2 separate regions of the Homo sapiens genome follow, and region 1 is linked to region 2. Evidence: promoter capture Hi-C in human tissues and cell types (Jung and others, 2019). All regions are on one chromosome and are shown on one strand. Each heading gives the region's core, a stretch centred on a gene start or on the middle of the fragment in contact. The rest is flanking DNA. Distances are from core to core; before and after follow the strand shown.

The links. The method cuts DNA at HindIII sites, captures the fragments that hold promoters and counts their contacts. A contact is called where the count stands out against the background at its distance.
Region 1: a fragment that was not itself captured here is called in contact with the fragment with the promoter of IFT46 in region 2 in 1 of the 25 tissues and cell types used here (spleen).

What each region holds. Positions count from the first base shown.
Region 1 is chr11:118,842,382-118,845,774 of GRCh38, reverse strand. No RefSeq gene overlaps it. Among named protein-coding and RNA genes, the nearest start is that of CXCR5, 40 kb to the left of the region's middle. The HindIII fragment of the contact is 5,445 bases long and covers 1-3,393 here.
Region 2 is chr11:118,564,487-118,567,804 of GRCh38, reverse strand. It overlaps IFT46 (intraflagellar transport 46), which reads left to right and starts at 1,874. Exons shown (of 12, transcript NM_001168618.2): 1 at 1,874-2,015; 2 at 2,744-2,840. It overlaps LOC124902764 (a long non-coding RNA gene), which reads right to left and starts at 2,744. Exons shown (of 4, transcript XR_007062907.1): 1 at 2,431-2,744; 2 at 2,100-2,193; 3 at 1,519-1,603. RefSeq lists an enhancer at 1,602-1,831. The HindIII fragment of the contact is 14,646 bases long and covers 1-3,318 here.

The sequences.
Region 1 (3,393 bases), core at 185-2,684, 280 kb before region 2:
AGTCAGTATAAATCAGCATTTGAGGATCTTGGTAAAATATAAAAGGAATTGTTTGTACTATTCTTATAACTTTGCTGTAAATATGAAACTATGTCAAAAAAAAAACATGAAGCAATGTATACATTGACAAACTCTCAATATTCTTTTGGTTTGTATGGTATTTCCTCATGAGTCACCCTGGGGCCTGCTATGACTTGAATCTCTGAGCTTACAGATCTAAAAGAGGTGGAAGGGTTAGGTTCCTAGGAGGATCACAGTCCCCTGAAAGGCCACTAGCTCTGGGGAGGTCATCCCAGGTTCTTTAGGTAAGGGAAGATTAACTGCAGATAGAGAAGAAGGTCACTTTTTTTTGGCTAAGGAGGGTTAGCTGAATTTAGGGTTTAAGGCAGGGGTGTCCAATCTTTTGGCTTCCCTGGGGCACATTGAAAGAATTGTCTTGGGCCACACTTAAAATACACTAACAATAGCTGATGAGCTAAAAAAAAAAAAAGAAAAAGAAAAAGAAAGAAAAAGATCACAAAAAACCTCATAATGTTTTTTATTGTTGTTGTTGTGGTTTTTGTTTTTTGTTTTTGTTTTTTCTTTTGAGGCACAGTTTTACTCTTGTTGCCCAGGCTGGAATGCAGTGGTGCTGTCTTGGCTCACTGCAACCTCAGCCTCCCGGGTTCAAGCGATTCTCCTGCCTCAGCCTCCCAAGTAGCTGGGATCACAGGCGACCGCCACCACGCCTGGCTAATTTTTGTATTTTTAGTGGAGAGAGGGTTTCACCATGTTGGCCAGGCTAGTCTCGAACTCCTGACCTTAGGTGATCCACCCGCCTCGGCCTCCCAAAGTGCTGTGATTACAGGTGTGACCCACTGCGCCTGGCCAAAGCTCATAATGAAAGTTTATGGCCGAGTGTGGTGGCTCAAGCCTATAATCCCAGGACTTTGGGAGGTTGAGGCGGGTGATCACCTGAGGTCAGGAGTTCGAGATCAGCCTGGCCAACATGGTGAAACCCCATATCTACTAAAAATACAAAAAAAATAGCTGGGTGTGGTGGTGCGTGCCTGTAATCCCATCTACTCAGGAGGCTGAGGCAGGAAAATCACTTGCACCTAAGAAGCAGAGGTTGCAGTGAGCCAAGATCGTGCCACTGCACTCCAGCCTGGGTGACAGAGGGAGACTCTGTCCAAAAAAAAAAAAAAAAAAAAGAAAGTTTATGAATTTGTGTTGGGCACATTCAAAGCCATCCTGGGCCACATGCAGCCTGCAGGGCCACAGGTTGGTCAAGCTTGGTTTAAGGTCTTTGACCTCATAGGAATCCATCCGTATGTCTGTATCCTAAGACTCAGGGTCTTACTCCTTTCCAATCAATGTCTTATTTTGAACATAAGACACCCTGGTAGGTTATGAATTCACTTTGCGTTGAAATTCAGTCTGCTGCAAGTGGACACTTAGTGTTTGGTGATCAGAAATCTTGACCTTGAGGCTATCAGAGATGAGAGTTTTTTTTAAAGGCAGTCTTCAAGTTTTTTGGTCCATTTTCCAGAACTTGAGATGGAAATTTAAAGCCTTTAGCTCATCATTTTCTTTCTCCAAACTTTCCCCATATGTAGAAGCAACCAACATTCCTCATTACATTCCTATTTCTACTAAAATGTTCTACAGCAGCAAATATTTGGCTACCCAAAGCTTTGCCGTCTATAAGCATGTATCACAAGTGATTACAGGTAGAGTTTAAGAATTTAAGTTTACTGCTGGCAACAATCATGAATGCACTTAAGTTTAATCAGGTCAGAGAACCAGTTTCCAATTCCTATCCTTAATGATCTGTCCCCTGAAACCACGGCCAGTACCAGTAAGTGTATCAGTCAGGGAGGTAGAACCTTCATGAATGATGAGATAAGGAATTTATTATGGGAACTATGCTTTACACAATTGTAGAAGAAGCTGGGGAAAGGAAAGACCAAGAGGTTAGTCAGAGAATCAAAAGAGGAGTCACCAATGTGGGGAGGGAAGTGCATCTGGCCACTGACATGGGGCTGTGATGAGAAGGCTCCTGGAGAGCCATCTGGGCAGCCGCCACCTCTGTGGATCCATCACCAAGTGTCTGGTGGTCACTGGTGGTCAACAGGGTCAGGAATTGGAAAGCATTTCTGGACACTGATCAGAGCAAAGCAAGGACAAGCTAGAGCTCACTAACACTTCTGTCACCACATCTAACCACAATGACATTTAGAGAATAATACTTGTGGCTAGGTGTGGTGGCCCACGCCTGTAATCCCAGCACTTTGGGAGGCTGAGGCGGGTGGATCACGAGGTCAGAAGTTTGAGACCAGCCTGGCCAATTTGGTGAAACCTCATTTTTACTTAAAAAACAAAAATTAGCTGGGTGTTTTGGGGCATGCCTGTTGTCCCAGCTAATCGGGGGGGTTCATTTTTGCCTTTTTTTTTTTTTGAGACAGAGTCTCGCTGTGTCTCCCATGCTGGAGTGCAGTGGCATAGTCTTGGCTCACTGCAACCTCCACCTCCCAGGTTCAAGCGATTCTCCTGCCTCAGCCTCCCGAGTATCTGGGATTACAGGCGCCTGCCACCACACCTGGCTAATTTTTTGTATTTTTAGTAGAGATGGAGTTTCACCGTGTTGGCCAGGCTGGTCTCGAACTCCTGACCTGGTGATCCACTGCCTCAGCCTCCCAAAGTGCTGGGATTATAGGCCTGAGTCACCATGCTGGGATTACAGGCGTGAGCCACCATGCCCAGCCCTTAATGTTATTTTTATGTTTGATAACGGCATTGTGGTTATGTAAGATAATGTCATTCTTAGGAGTTGGGGTTTAAATATTTAGGGGTGAAACTTCAAATGGCTTTGCATTTGTTTATTTGTATTACATATCTAGTGAATACAACAAAATGTTCAATCGTTGAATCTAGGTGGTGGATCTGCAGATGTTTCAACCTTTCAGTTATGTTTGACATTTTTTAATAATAAAGTAACAGGGAAAATAAAAGACTCCTCTCGATTCTTACCTTCTCTGGAAGGCTTTCCTACCCACCTCCTGTTACTGCTTTAAAGTCTGTGCTGTCCATCCTTTTTCTTTCCAAGGTATAGCTCTGTGGCATATATCATACTGTACTTTAATTTCTTGTTTTCTGGTCTCTCTGTAAACTTTGAAGTCCTTAAAGGGCAACATGCTCTCTTTCATCTGTAACTGTCCAGCATTTATTCCTGTACCTGGCACAGGATTGGGTGACTCATTCATCCTCGTTCAGTCAAGAACAGAAGAAAGTCTAATTTAGGAATTTTCTTCAGGGCTACCAATTCAAGTGACTCCAAGAAGAGCAACGGTTTGAGGTTTTTAATTTTTGTTTCACATTATAGAAGTGATGCTTGCAAATTAAAATACTTTT
Region 2 (3,318 bases), core at 625-3,124:
AACTAAGTGCTCCTACATAGTAAGTACTGCACATTACATATCCACTATTACGAGCAAAACAGATCACAAATTTTTTTTTAAATGCAGTTCTATTTTTAACTATCAGTATGCCAGAAAAGCTGTCTCTCATTTTTTAAAGGCACTTTCCTTGTTTACCTCTGGTAGGTTTTCAGGGTCAAATTTCCAATATTATTTTCTTTTTAAAATGTATTGCTATTATTATTATTTTGAGACGGAGTCTCGCCCTGTCGCCCAGGCTGGAGTGCAGTGGTGCGATCTCGGCTCACCACAACCTCCACCTCCCGGGTTCAAGCAATTCTCCTGCCGCAGCCTCCTGAGTGGCTGGGATTACAGGCGCGCGCCACCATGCCTAGCTAATTTTTGTATTTTTAGTAGAGACGGGGGTTTCACCATGTTGGTCAGGCTGGTCTTGAACTCCTGACCTTGTGATCCACCCACCTTGGCCTCCCAAAGTGCTGGGATTACAGGCGTGAGCCACCGTGCCCGACCAAAAAATTATTATTGTTATTATTCATTATTTATATTTGAGATGGGGTCTTGATCTGTTGCCCAGGCTGGAGTGAATGCAGTGGCCCAATCTCGGTTCACTGCAACCTCTGCCTCCCTGGCTCAAGCAATCCCCCCGCCTCAGCCTCCCGAGTGGCTAGCACTATAGGTGCGTGCCACCACACCTGGCTAATTAAAAAAAATTTTTTTTTTATTTTTAATAGAGTGGAGGGGGGCGGTTCTTGCTATGTTGCTCTAGCTGGTCTCAAACTCCTGAACTCAAGCAATCGTCCCACCTCTACCTCCTGAAGTGCTGGGATTACAGGTGTGAGCCACCGCACCTGGCCTCCAATATTTTATGTTTCTCTCTCCCTGACTTCCCAAATTAATTATGTCCACAGTTTGAAAATATTTGTTCCTTACATCTCCATTCACTCATTCCTCGATTCATCCACCCAATGAGCATTGTTAGTGTCTAATTTCTGCAATACACTGGTGTTACAAAGCTTAAAAATTAATTAGACACAGGTCTTGCTTTAAATAAGTTAAAAGTCTACTTTAGCAAATAAGAAAGACAGGACACAGAGTGAAAAAAAATTTTTTTTGAGACGGAGTCTCGCTTTGTTGCCCAGGCTGGAGTGCAGTGGTGCGATCTCGGCTCCCTGCAAGCTCCGCCTCCTGGGTTCATGCCATTCTCCTGCCTCAGCCTCTCGAGTAGCTGGGACTACAGGCGTCCGCCACCACGCCCGGCTAATTTTTTGAATTTTTTAGTAGAGACGGGGTTTCACCGTGTTAGCCAGGATGGTCTCGATCTCCTGACCTCGTGATCCGCCCGCCTTGGCCTCCCAAAGTGCTGGGATTACAGGCGTGAGCCACCGCGCCCGGCCCACAGAGTTAAATTTGAACCTCAGATACCCAAGGAATAATTTATTGCTATAAGTATGTTCCATTCCATGGCACCCTGTGGAGGGGAAAGACTATAGTGTAATATAGTGCTAGAAAAGGACTTACAGAGTGCTGCGAAATTTCCCCTGGAATGTGTCTACATCCTGGTAAGACTGATCTGGGAGCAACTGCATCCCCAGAGATTGTTGTCCTAGGGGAACAAACGCACACCTTGTTTCCAGATTGAAGGGCTAACTCTACACCAGCCCGAAATTTATCAGCCGCGTTGCCACCCATAGCCGCTAGATGCCGCAACAGACGTATTTACTGAAACCATAGACAAACAGGCGACTTGGCCGCCCAGAGAGGCTTTATCCGTGACTCCTTGATCTTCTTCCTGCGTGGAGAGCCTTCGCGGGTGAGGCTTAACGCGCAGGAGGTCTCACGAGAGTGGAAGCAACTCTCGCGAATTTTAAAATTTATCTTTTTGCCTAGCGACTGACAACAGGCTGGTTGCTTGGCGTGGAATCCTAAAGTGGCCTGGCTTTGAGACTGGAGTGAGACCCCAGCCCTAGGCTGGGGTTCTTTCCATTATAGAGGAGACGGATTCAGAAGGGCTACAGGTAATTAGTACTCATCCCAGCAAAAAGGGAACTGTCTTTCTAGAGAGGCTTAAGAGGACTCCCCTTTACCCCATTCCCGGTTACCTCTTCCAATCTCCGTGGTAACTGTTCCTTCGTCACCTCACCACCAACCGTCCTGCTTCCTTTATTCCCCCAAGAAACTTAGGTGGGATCCTATCTGCAAGATAAGGGTGAAAGTGGAGGTGATGATTTTGGGATTATCGGATGGGACTGAGAGACTGGAGTTTCCCCTCTCTTCGGGGACCCTCCCACCCTACCCCGCCTCAGCCCACCCCACCCCACCCCACCCCACCCCACCCCACCCCACCCCAGAGGTGACTCCAGAGACAGAACTCTTTCTAGAACCTCTACAGCCTTCCCTGAGAAACCTCAACAGCCTTGGCCATCTACATACAAATAGTGTTCTGCCCTTGCGCGTGGTCGTACAGCTTTGGGAAGCTGCAGAAGTTGGCTCTCTTTCCCTCCACGATTCCCTGGTTCCTCAGCCAGCCTGCCAGCAGTTCCTAAATAAGGGCTGCAACAGAATGACTTAACTGCTTGACCGAGGGCCAGGAAGCCTGAAGGAAAGTTTGGATGGGGTGATGGTTTTGTGAAAAACTGGTTTCTTGAGTAAGGAAGAGGAGCCAATGCTGGTTTGGAATATACCTCCTGGCAGAGTGCTTTATGTCTCATGATAGGAGCTATGAATTATGTCTCCCTTTGCTTAGACCAAGGTTGTTGAAAACCAGACATATGATGAGCGTCTAGAGATTAACGACTCCGAAGAGGTTGCAAGTATTTATACTCCAACCCCAAGACACCAAGGTAAGAGAGGAAAGAAGAGAAATGCTACTGAAAGAGCAGGATGGATTCACGGTTGTCTTCAAGAAGTTCTTATTTTATAATAGCAAATGTTGACTTTCAGCGTCAATTTACTTCACTTGCCATTGTTTGTTTTCTGACTAGTTAAGGGGGAGAAATCATAGCCTTCCAAATTACAGGATCTTCCCCCAATCCAACCCTGTCACCATTTACTTCATGTTACTGCTTTGCTCACTGTCTGCCAGGAATTCACTGTTCTTTTTCTTTTTCTTTTCTTTTTTTTTAACTTATGTTTTTCCTAGCTTTGAAGATGCTTCATAACCTCCCCTTAGCCTGCAACCCCAACCAAAATCACAGTGGAATGTTTTTAAAGGACTGAACACTATTTATTTATTCAACAAACTTTTTTTTCTTAATTTTATAGAGACGAGGCCTCGCTATGTTACCAAGGCTGATCTTGAACTCCTAGCCTCAAGCAGTC